Regions from separate parts of the Homo sapiens genome. Here region 1 is linked to region 2. The links are contacts of gene promoters, found by promoter capture Hi-C in blood cells and fetal thymus (Javierre and others, 2016). All regions are on one chromosome and are shown on one strand. Each heading gives the region's core, a stretch centred on a gene start or on the middle of the fragment in contact. The rest is flanking DNA. Distances are from core to core; before and after follow the strand shown.

Evidence for each region. Contacts are between HindIII fragments. The CHiCAGO score rates a contact against its expected background, and 5 or more counts as called.
Region 1: a fragment that was not itself captured here is called in contact with the fragment with the promoter of LYPLA2 in region 2 in 1 of 17 cell types (fetal thymus); the score reaches 5.5 in fetal thymus.

The regions. Positions count from the first base shown.
Region 1 is chr1:23,338,246-23,344,066 of GRCh38, reverse strand. It overlaps HNRNPR (heterogeneous nuclear ribonucleoprotein R), which reads left to right. Exons shown (of 11, transcript NM_005826.5): 2 at 3,050-3,215; 3 at 5,459-5,577. The coding sequence starts at 3,059. Among named protein-coding and RNA genes, the nearest start is that of HNRNPR, 3.1 kb to the left of the region's middle. RefSeq lists silencers at 1-230, 241-310. The HindIII fragment of the contact is 2,479 bases long and covers 1,583-4,061 here.
Region 2 is chr1:23,787,047-23,793,068 of GRCh38, reverse strand. LYPLA2 (lysophospholipase 2) reads right to left here and starts at 1,924. Exons shown (of 10, transcript NM_007260.3): 1 at 1,819-1,924; 2 at 309-412; 3 at 30-61. The coding sequence starts at 386. It overlaps LOC105376860 (a long non-coding RNA gene), which reads left to right. Exons shown (of 2, transcript XR_947067.3): 2 at 2,279-2,455. It overlaps PITHD1 (PITH domain containing 1), which reads right to left. Exons shown (of 6, transcript NM_020362.5): 6 at 4,837-5,794. The coding sequence ends at 5,693. RefSeq lists a silencer at 1,687-1,746. The HindIII fragment of the contact is 1,905 bases long and covers 1,560-3,464 here.

The sequences.
Region 1 (5,821 bases), core at 1,573-4,072, 450 kb after region 2:
TAGTCCGCCCGCGCGGCTGTGGGCCTAGCCCGGCCGAAACGCTTCTCGCCCTCGCTCTTCCTCCCCCCGCCCCTTTAGCCCGCGGTCCGGCCCGCTGGGCGCTCTCCGCGCGGCCTGCTGGGGCCGGCCGTGCTTTTCCCGCCTCCGCTCGCTGCTCCATGCGGCCGGATCCCGCGAAGGGCCTGAGGCGCCCGCGGCCCTGCCGCTTCTCCCCGCCGGAGCCGCTTCGCTCCCGCCGCGGCCGGCCTAGCCCGAGAGGGATGTGCTGATGATCCGGACGGGCCTGAGGGGATGGGGGTGGGGGGCGGAAGGCGGGGTGCAGATCCCAGGGTTATCTGAGCCGGGAGAAAAGTTTTGTGTGAGCAGAAACCGAAAGGCCGATTTGTGTGGGAAGCCTCCCTCCCCTCCCACATTCTGCATGCCGCGGGCTGAGATTTGAAGGAAAAAATGACTACTAGAGGCCGTAGAACTTAGGCTCCAAGCGGCGCCTGAAATGGATAATTCTGAGACTGTCAGAGGCGCACCAAATTGGAAAGGCGATCCTTTTTCTTACACGGTAGTGGCCGTATTGCCAAATTTTTAAAAAAGCCCAGGGCTTCTTGGAAGGTTCAGTCCTTTCACACTACCTGTTTGAGATTTTTGCAGTCCTCAAGTGGCTGAATTGATGTCTCATGAGTCAGTCGTAGGATGAGAGCTCGACACTCCTAAGCCATGAGATAACCGTTAGTCTCATTTCGTTGGTTCTTTTAAAGCCCGTCTCTTAATATGAAGAATTTGCACAGAGAGGTTCAGAAAAAGTCAGGGAGGAGTTAGTGCTGACATCCCGAATCTCCCAGCAGCCCTTTTAAATCTTTAAATGTCTCCTTTTTTTTTGCAAAAATGTTTAGATCAAATGACTCCAGTCACGTTAGTATATTTGCTGCATCCAGAAATATGGTTTGGCTGTGTGGCATTGTGTTGAATGCCACATTTGAATGAGTTTCAAATGGTCTCATATGACATAAAAAGTCTTTTCAAAATGAGCATTTTGTATTTGGCTTGAAGAGAGAGGGCTTTCCTTGATCCGAAGGTTTTATTTTCTGGAATCTAATTATTTTACGGTTTTTTTGTTAAAATTTACAAACTTTTTTTGAAAATTTTAACCAATTTCAGTATCAACTTGTAGAGCCTTTGCAATGAAATGGTAGGCATAAATATTTCTGTCTTGTACTTAATACACAACTTGTCTTTTTGCTTTACACATACTTAAAAACCCCACCTTAACAGATGTTCATTGAACTTTTCTGTTAAAAATTTGCCTCTTTTCTGTGACTGATAGTATTCCTAGGTACAATGCTGTAAGGGTCTTGTGATACTGAGAACTTTTGAGTTCTGATGATCTTAAGGTAGTATGTGGGGATGGGGGAGCATGGGAAAACAGAACCTTATGTTCGCAAGGAGATTTTGTGTTTTAGGATGCATCTTTATAGAAATAGGTCGTGTTAATCAGTAAACGTATTCATCTCACACAATACAGTTTCTTGATCAAAAGTGTGACATTTCGAATGTTTCCGTTTTTGCTAGTTCATCAGAATTTGAAGCTTGTCTTGAGAAACATCCACCCAGAATTTAACCACAGTCTGCGTCTATTAAGGGCTATCGAGTCTTAATAGTGTTTTGTAATTGTGAGGAGTCATGTTTATCTCATTTTCAGAGTAATCCTTTGCATTTTCTTCTTCTTCCTACTCTCTATTACCTCCTTCCCCTCTTGGTCTTCCTCCCTCTTTCGTTAACTTCAACTAAGTATCAGTGGACTTTGAAATGAAAAGAAGTTGTTTTAAGCCAGAAAACTGCACCTGGTGCATTTGCACAATGTTCGATAAGCTGTCGGGAAGTGTGGTTATCTTATGTGTCTTAGTACTTTGTAGGAGACTTGTATTTTCTTTATAGATGACTAGGTATCTTGAGTTTCATCAAGAAAAGTAGGCTTTTTCTTGAGATCCACCTTTATGTCTTTTATTTAGTATGTGTTGCAATGTCTTGTTCTGCTGCCTATTATCTTCATCACATTGTAATTTCACCACAGACAAATGCACTTTAATTCCCTGTCTTTTGAGGCAGTACACAGACTGGCCTTGTATGGTTTATTGTTTACTCTCTCTCTTCAGGGAGTCAGTCCATTTCAGCATTACCTACAGGCTGAATGTACAAAATTATTTTTGATAGGTTAATCTGAGAAATCTGGCTGAAGTTTAGCCTAATTAGGTAACGGTTTTTGAAATATTTGGAAGAAGTTGTCCATTCTTCAGTATGTTTTTACATCTTTATTTTACTGATATGAAAATTTCAACATGTACTCTTTTTTTTTAAGAAGCAACCTAAACTATAGCTCACTTAGTATTTTATTTGGACTGAAAACAATTGTTTCGCTTTTAAACTTGGTCATTTTTTCTTTTAAATCTGTGGGAATAGCGAATTAATCTTAGAACAAAAATTAATGTCAAGTTGGTTTTTTTTTGTTTTCGTTTTGTATTGTTAGGTGGAGAAAACCCAAACCACCAGCATGTTGAACTAGAGAAAACAGGGCACTTATTTCACACCGATACTGTATTTGAAGCAGAGCCAGGAAAATTTGAAAGTCCTTAAATCTTGATTAAGTGGTCTGTGGGTGTTCATTCTGTTTTTAAAACAAAACTTTTTAAAACTGTGTAAGACCCGAGAGCTGAGGGGCTTTTTAGTAAAGGATTTTGTAGTGATTTTGATCTTTTCACCAGGACAGAACAGCTGCTTTTGTTAATCAGCAATTCTACCTTCAGTAAATTAAAGCCTTTATCTTACCCGGTGTACATGAAGTTCCTTAAAGATCTAATGCTTCCATGTACATTTTCTATGGTTTTACAGGATTATTATTGCCAATTTAGGTCAGATACATCACAGGAGGAATAAATTATTATTTTGATAGAGGTTATTAGCAGCATGTATACAAATTAGTTTAGATAAATCATGCATTGTCCTACAAACTAGTTATTTCTGGCTTAATGTAATATAGCTCCTGAATTTTTTCCAGCAGCATAATAAAATGGCTAATCAGGTGAATGGTAATGCGGTACAGTTAAAAGAAGAGGAAGAACCAATGGATACTTCCAGTGTAACTCACACAGAACACTACAAGACACTGATAGAGGCAGGCCTCCCACAGAAGGTGGCAGAAAGACTTGATGAAATATTTCAGACAGGTATAATATGCATTTCTTGTTTCTGACTGGTTATGAAAGTGAGGGCAAACCACTTTGAATTTTATAGTTTTTTAAGGTTAAATAATACTTATTGTTTCTGATCTGTAGAGCTGAATGTTTGTTACTTTCCCTTCATTGAAGGCATATTGGGTTTGACTTTGATACTCTTATTTCATTATTTTGAAGCCTTCTTAGTGTTGAATATGCAGTCTTAGTTGTTTCAGAACAGCACATCGATTTGTCTTAGATTTACCACCCATAAAAATGTATGTTTCTGCATACCAAATTTTACATTTTTTTCTTAATCAAAATCAGTCATCATTTTGCTTTTGCTTTTCTACTTTTACCTTCTTAAAGTGATTGTTAAATCAGCTTAGGTCTGATTAGGTGGCATAACAAGAGGATAGCTGTATCGTCTGAAACCATAATAAATGTCAGACTCCTTGAGAGTTTGTGGCTTGTCTAGTTTCTAATAGAAATCCACATCTCTCCGTAATTTGGAAGTGTTTGGTTGTAACAGCTGCTTCTTTTTTTTTTTTTTAATCCAGAAGTGCCATGGTTAAGTGCTTAAGCAAATTTGAACATCTTAATATAGTTGGTTGTAAGTGGTTTGAAGTTTTAAAGAGGGAGAGAAATATTTACCCTTAGGGAGCGTTGTTCATAAATGAATGTGTCCTCCTCCTTTGGGGACATAGATGGAAACTTTCTTCCTCTGTGTTGTGTGTGCCTATTCAGATTCTGAGAGAGAATTGAATTGTCTCACTCACAAATGTGTCTTAAGTACAGTAGTAGCAAATAGCTGTTTTTTTTTTTTTGTCCTTAAAAAATTTTTAAATCTGGGAAGCTTAGCATAATTTTAGACATTAAAATGACTTATAAAAATGACTCCTGGGTCATGGTCGCATTTGAAAATCAGTCCTCAGGAACTTTCTGTGACATTCTGCCATAGAGAATTGGCAGTGATCTGCTTAGAGATGCTCTCTTGTAGAGTGTTTTGTTATTGATAAGAGGCTGATGGTTTGGGCGTAGACTTGGTTTGACAAAATGGATTGATGGGTGTCCTGAGTTGTGGCTTCGGGTGGTGGTATGGAATATTCAAGTGAGGCAGCTCCAGTTATTTACACATGCTCATTTCGAGCTTTTGAAACAAATCATGGCAACTTTTTTAAAAAGTAACTTTGGAAGTGGCATTACATTTATTTAAAATTTACTATATGGAATAAAGTTCTTTTTAGCTTTATCAAAATGGAGTCACTTTTCATGTTCATATGAACTTGGGGGTTTTAATCTACGAAATACTTGCATTTTACGTTGGATCAATTCTGAAATATATTCCATATGTAAATATGACACAAACTTAACAGACTTAAGAAATTATATTTTAAACTTAGTAGATGTTCTGTGTGCAGTTGAATATACTTACATATATGAAATGCAGTGTATATATTTTCTGTCAAGTTTACTTGTAAGACCATAAAGTCTTTATTGCCATTTGAAAATGATTGTCGTTCTTGACAGTCAATGTGAATGCCACAGCATCTTTTAAATCTCAGCTTGTCACTTCAGAAGAACAAAGAATGCCTTAAAGTATGACTTTCAGAATTGATTAATCAAGCTGCACTTGCATTTGTAGAAGTTTAAAATTATGCCTTTCCACATTCTGACTGCAGCAAAGTGGATGCTCAGATAAACAAATGCATTTCAGTTTATCTTTGGTGTTCAGGAGGGAAAGCCTTTTGACACTTTTTGGAGAGTGGAAAGAATTACTTAGTAAAATTTGTTTTCAGATTTTCCTCCACCTCTTAGGTGGTTAGCATCAACTGTAACCGTCTGTAATTTGAAGGTTTATCCTTGGAAAACGCAATGTATTCTTATCACTCTAATATAAACCAAAATTTGTTGTATTAATGCATAATCTGTAATACAGTATGTACATCAGATTTAACTTTCAAGACTTATACCTTTGGGGGAGTGGGAAATGGATGTTAGGATTTGGCGGGGGAGGTTTGTGGATATGGAGATTGAAATTCATGTTTTTGGTTGTTGACATTTTATCTTTATTTTCATATTTGTCCTGGACCTTTCTATGTAGTATTTGGATAGCTGCGTATATGCATATAGTTAAATGAAAATACAGTTTGTTAGTGATCATATTGAATGTAACAATTCTTGATTAAACGTCAGTAGAGCTTAGATTACCCCTTTTGTTGCAATAACGTTACCCCTTTCAATTTAATTTTTAGGATTGGTAGCTTATGTCGATCTTGATGAAAGAGCAATTGATGCTCTCAGGGAATTTAATGAAGAAGGAGCTCTGTCTGTACTACAGCAGTTCAAGGAAAGTGACTTATCACATGTTCAGGTAAGGTCGTTACTCAGAAATGTCTTTGAACAATTAGTAATCTGAAATTATTTTACTATTACTTTTTTTCCTATGGAGAAGTGGTATTTTTTGTTTGTGACTACCTCTTCTTTTAAAAAATTAGTTTAAAGGAAAAAAACTGCTTGTGGCAGAGTTTCAGAAGCCCAAGTATAAAGCAAAAGTTTTCTCCCACCCCCTTGTGCAGTAAGTTATTTTAAAAACTTAAAATTAAAGCCAAGTTTTG
Region 2 (6,022 bases), core at 675-3,174:
TTAAGGAGCACCCCTCCTCAGTCACTTACCCTGTGTCTCCAAGTCCATGTAAAAAAATAACCTGGAAAAGGATGGGAAATGGGGAGACAGGAAGGCTTCCCCTAGGTCCTCCAACTTCTGCCCACCCCTCCCCCACCCCCAAGGACCTGGGGGAACCCAGGTAGCAGCCAAACAGGTTACTACCCCGAGCCTGCTGGCCTCAGGATACTCCCTGCTCATCACTGCCACCTCCATTTTCCCACACCCCCTCCAGCCGGTCCTCCAGCTGCTCCCACAGTGTCTGGCCGTGGGTGAAAGGGGACCCTTACCGCGGCCGTTTCCCGCTCAGCTCCAGACACGGTGGCAGCATCGGTGAGCAGGGGCACAGACATGGTGTTACCACACATACACCACACGGCTCCACGGCGGGGGCCTGCATACATCGGGGCGGCGGTCAAGAGCAAAACCAGGCACAGGACACACTCCTGGCCCAAGAGGCCACCAGGCCATCAGCCCCACACAGCACCCAGGTTCTGTCCTGGGCACAAAGAATAGTCAAGCAAGAAGTCCCAGGGCACAGGAGAAGAAGTCTGCCTCAGTTCCAGGGCTGAAAGGCAGAGACAGCCTCCCTAGTGGCCCAGAACATGTGTCTCTGGTTCTGGCCCAACCACAGGACCTGAGCTTGCTGGAGACAGGCAGAGGCAGGGCATAGGGACTGTAGGGCAGGGGGCAGAGGGGAGGCAGCGGCACGCCTGCTTCATTCCCCCTCTAACTCCTCAGGGGTGAGTGCCTTCCCCCTCCTCTCCAATCATCCCTGGGTCCCTGCCTCCCCAACTCCGGGCCCTATGGGAAATGGAGAGAAAAGTGCCAGGGAAAGGAGCTTCCATCCCCTACTCAGTGCCGCCTCCAACCCCCATCTCAACCTCCCCCCACCCAGCCCCCATCCAGCCTTCACAGCAGTTTCTGGCCCATCCATTCCCAGACCCCCAGGGGGCTGCCCATGTCCCCAGAAAGCGTAAGAACTCCACCCACCCCCAAACTGGTGCTCCACGCCCCCCCTAAACGGAGCTACCTGCTGCTGCTGCCACTGACTGCAAACGAGCCCTGGCTTGACCACGCTCTGGGACTCCCAAACACACAAAAGAATGTCAGGCTGGCTGGCCCCTCCCCATCCTCGGCGTCCTCCAAACTCGCCGGAAGCTTCCACTACCTGCCTCAAGTGCCTGCCCACCCCTCCCAACTGGCCTCACCTTCCATCTCTGACCCCTGAGGGCAGCTCCCCACAATGGGATCGTTCACCTGTGACCCGGGGTTCCTCTTCCCATGGGGAATGCACCTCCTGCCCTGAGCTGCGATTCCCTTCCTTCTCCACCGTGGGGACTTGCACCTCCCGCCCAGGCTCCCTCCTCGGAGGGGTGCCTTCCCCCTGACCTGTCTCTCTCTATACACCTTGAGAACTTCCACCCTGACCCAGGATCTCCCGCTCCCCACAATGGGAACTTCTGTTCTGACCAAAGGTCACCCTACCCAGTGAAATTTTCTACCCTGACCCAGGACTCCCACCTGCCCACAATAAAGCTTTGTACCTTTGACTCTGGGGAAGCCCCCGCCCCACAATGGGCTCTTCTATTTCCGACCCTGAAGTCTGTCTCTTTATACTCAGACACCCCCTTGCCTAGCCCCGCTCCACTCCCGAAGTCCCCAAGACTGGACAGCGCCTTCGCACCTCACTCCCCACCCCCATCCCCCCCATCACGGTTCCCCCTCCCCGCTCTCCGGGACCCTCCCGAGGCCGACCTCCCCCTACACGCCCATCCTCCGCAGCCGCCGGCTGGGTACCTCCACTCCCTGGGACTTCCGAGGCCGCTTGGGCGATTCTCCTCTTTCTCCCGCAGACACACTCTTCCCCCTCGGCCGCCCCCGCCGGAACTTCCGTTCGAGTCCCGGGAACCCAGCCATCGCGCTGCCGGAAGTAGCCTGGCCGACAGTACGGAACCCGGAAGCGGGGACCCGGCTTCGCTGGATAGAAGCTGCCATGTTGGAGGCGGCGGGGCTACTCCCTGTCATTCAGCCGCGCAGTCGCTGGGTTCTCACCCGCTCCCACCTTGTAGATTCGAGACAGGGCACCCAAGACTCCCACTTGCTACCACCACCCATGCGCCTCCTGGAGGAGGGCCGACCGGAAGGAGAGGCATCCCTCACACTATTGTTTGCATAAACTTTACCACCTTCCCATCCTCATGGGACACACCTCTTAAGGCCTCGGGTGTCTGCCACTGGCTTTCATGCCCTATTCCAGGATCATGAATGGAATGACACACTCTGAACCGAAGAGACCTTACAGATCATCTAGTTCTCCAGCCTTGAAGATGGGGAAACTGAGGCTCAAGGAAGGCATGTAAACAGCAACCTCGGGATTCCATTTAAATTCTGCCTCTCTGGATCTGCTTCCTGATATATAAAATGGTAATAACCACCCTGCCTCCTTCACAGCTTTGTTGGTAGGCTTAAATGAGGTTGTGTGAACATGGTTTATACAGTAAAATCACAGCGTGAGGTGTTAATCACGCAAAAAAGGACCTAGGAAAAATACAAAGGCCGTATCAGGAGAGCTGGACAGGCACTGGCAGTGTTAGCGCTGCCCTTCACAAGCAATGTCATGCAGACAGTGCACAAAACGCTGCCATCAAGCTGAAGTGGAAATAGGTATCAGGGACCACAGAAAAGTCAGAAGGCAGGCAAACTGAGTTGAAGGAGCATGTCCCTGAGAATGTGTGGGGATCTGCAAATAGGAAATGAGTCACACTTGACCCTCAGCCGCTTAGGACTCACTCTCCCAGCCTAACCTATACTAGTGTTTTCTTTGAACAGAAAGAAAACAGTACAGCCAGGCGCGGTGGCTCACTCCTGTAATCCCAGCACTTTGGGAGGCTGAGGCGGGCGGATCACGAGGTCAGGAGATCGAGACCATCCTGGCTAACACGGTGAAACCCTGTCTCTACTAAAAATACAAAAAATTAGCCTGGCGCTGTGGCGGGCGCCTGTAGTCCTAGCTACTCGGGGGGAGGCTGAGGCAGGAGAATGGCGTGAACCCGGGAGGCGGAGCTTGCAGTGAGCCAAGATAGTGCCACTACACTCCAGCCTGGGCAACAAAGCGAGACTCTGTCTCAAAAAAAAAAAAAAAAAAAAAAGAAAGAAAAGAAAAAGAAAACAGTACAAAGTTGGAAGCTCAACAAAGCACTTTCCCCCAGGCCCAGAGGCACTTTGGTCCTAAGTACTCAACAGGTCAGGGAGCCTACAATACCAGGATTCGGGGCAGGAAACCTTTGAGCCTATGGGACCACCACAAGCCAAGGACCCAGGACTGAATGTCAAAAGAAAATGGAGGGTAATGTCCCCACTTATGGAAGAATGAACAGTTCCTCCTGCAACCTCGATCACCTGAGACACCATGACACTTAAAACAAATTCTTCAGAGTGAAGCTTCAAATTCAGAGGCTCAGTCCCAGGAGCTGTGATTAATGCTTTAATTAGTGGAATTAGTGAAGGGCTAGTCTGCTCTAAGATTTTTAACTTTATTTTTCCCCCTACTCCAAATTTAAACATAGCCCTTCTTTTAACTCCAAAAAATGATCCAACTGAAATAAAGAGGCTGTGGCTGAGTGAATAGGACCCTTCATGCTTTTCAAGAACAGCATTTGCATTCTGGTTTATTTCAGGCTGCATTTTAGAAATTTTGAGGGCCAACAAGGTTTGGTGGTAGCAGACCTTTCCTAGGACAGGCTGGAGAAACAGTGGCTATATCCTCCAAACAACAGCATGGGCCAATGCCTCAGAGGAATTCTCCCAAAAGGATCAGATTCAACACTAATTCCCTTTATTACCTGTTCCTGTTTTCTGCAAGGGAGAGAATACTGACCATATCAAATCCCCTTTTTAGATACTTACATTCTCTTCAATTGCTAAACTGACTTTCAAAATTTAAGTCCAAAGTCTTTGGTCTACCTGGAGACCACATGAGCTGCTCAATTACTTTCCTCACCCTCATTTCTTCTGATGAGCTCCAAAATCTGTTCTCCCTTATTTTTGTAAATGTCATTCTACAAATCACTTCCTTTTGTGCAAAATGAAATATAGGGTTTTGTTGTTGTTGTTTTGAGACAAGGTCTCACTCTGTTGCCTCAGGCTGGGGTGCAGTGGCGCAATCATGGCTTACTGTAGCCTCGACCTCCTGGGCTCCAGTGATCCTCCCACCTCAGCCTCCCAAGTGGCTGGGACTACAGGTGCACGCCACCATGCCCAGTTAATTTCTGTGAAATACAGGTTTTCAACCCCACCTTCTTCTTTACTATATATGGGTGTAGGAGTGTTTTTGGCCTACTGTACAAAATTAAGCTTGACCATTCCTGGAGAAACTGATCCAGTCTTGATTTTTTTTTTTTTTTTTTTTGAGACGGAGTCTCACTCTGTCACCCAGGCTGGAGTGCAGTGGTGCAATCTCAGGTCACTGCAAGCTCCGCTTCCCGGGTTCATGCCATTCTCCTGCCTCAGCCTCCTGAGTAGCTGGGACTACAGGCTCCCGCCACCGCACCCGGCTAATTTTTTGTATTTTTGGTAGAGACGGTTTCACCGTGGTCTCGATCTCCTGACCTCGTGATCCGCCCACCTCGGCCTCCCAAAGTGCTGGGATTACAGGCGTGAGCCACCGCGCCCGGCTCCAGTCTTGATTTAATTGTGGCACTTCCTATAATCTACCTAGTCCAAAACAACAACAAAAAATTTCAAAGTTCAGTACAGTTCCCCATGAAATGAAAGTTGCATCAGTGGCTATCAAGAACTCAAAAGAAAATACAAACATTAAGTCTGGCAAGGATTTATTAGGAAGCTTATTAGTCACAGTGAATAAAAGCCATGAAAAGAAGAACTCAAATCTCCAAATTCTGGCATCGGACTTACAACACTAGTTAGAAGCTAATAAACATTAAGGAATTTCCAAGGGGAATCTTAACTAAGTCTCAATCTTACTGACCAGATTACCCACACACATAGAAATGATCCCCATGCTCTCCCCAGACTGCTTAGCTAGGCAGTGGAAAAGACCTTCTCCCCAAGCTTAAGCTATCACGCATCAGCAGGAGACTCCTGTCCTTCTAGCTATAACCACAGGACACATGTGCGTGACAGACAACTCCAAGCTGGGCAACTTGACAAGAATGCTGAACAATGAGAGGGGAAAGGAGCAAGCAGGAACAAGTGTTTTAGTTGGAGACCCTCCTGATGGCTACTACTAACACAATCCGGAGGCATCAGAAAGTTTCCTATAGCCCACAAATAGTTTCCTTTAAAAAAACAAAAACAAAAACAAAAAAACAAGTCACACAACAATCTTGCCACAAAGCAACATGACACTTGGAATCACATGGCCACATTAACTGGAAAAGCAAGTGTTACCCATGACTGCCAGATGCCACCCAGCCCAAGACCCAATTTCCACAGCGCCCTAGAGAACCACGATGGTCCCCTGGCACCTACACAACCCTCCCAGTGGTGTCGTATCTTCCGTAGGCCAGGTTTCTGCAGCAAGCCCCAAAGACAAAGCTTGGCAGAGGCTGTGGCAGCCAACTCTCTCTGGAGCCTCATCCCTTTGTCCTTCCCAACAGGTAGTCGTACATCTTCACTGACACAGCGCCTCTATGGGAGCCTTGGCCAGCCCTTAGGAAATAAAGTGTGTCTGTGGGGTAACCTGATGGACCCTATGGTCTGCTGGGTTGGCAGATGCTTCGTAATTGCAGATGGTCACCTCGTGTCGGCGAAGCTGCAAGAAAATTGAGGCTGGGTCAGCCAGCCATTAAAAGAACTGTCCTTTCCCACACCACACACATTGCGGTAGTCCTTATTCAGGTTCATTTCTAGGAGTCATCATTTAATATCTCCTTATTTTAATACTTAGATGTCATCATCTAATATCTCCCAATTTTGATACTTTTTAACTCCAGAAAGCTGCAAAGATCATTATCATTGATTCACCCTGTAACTTTGAAGA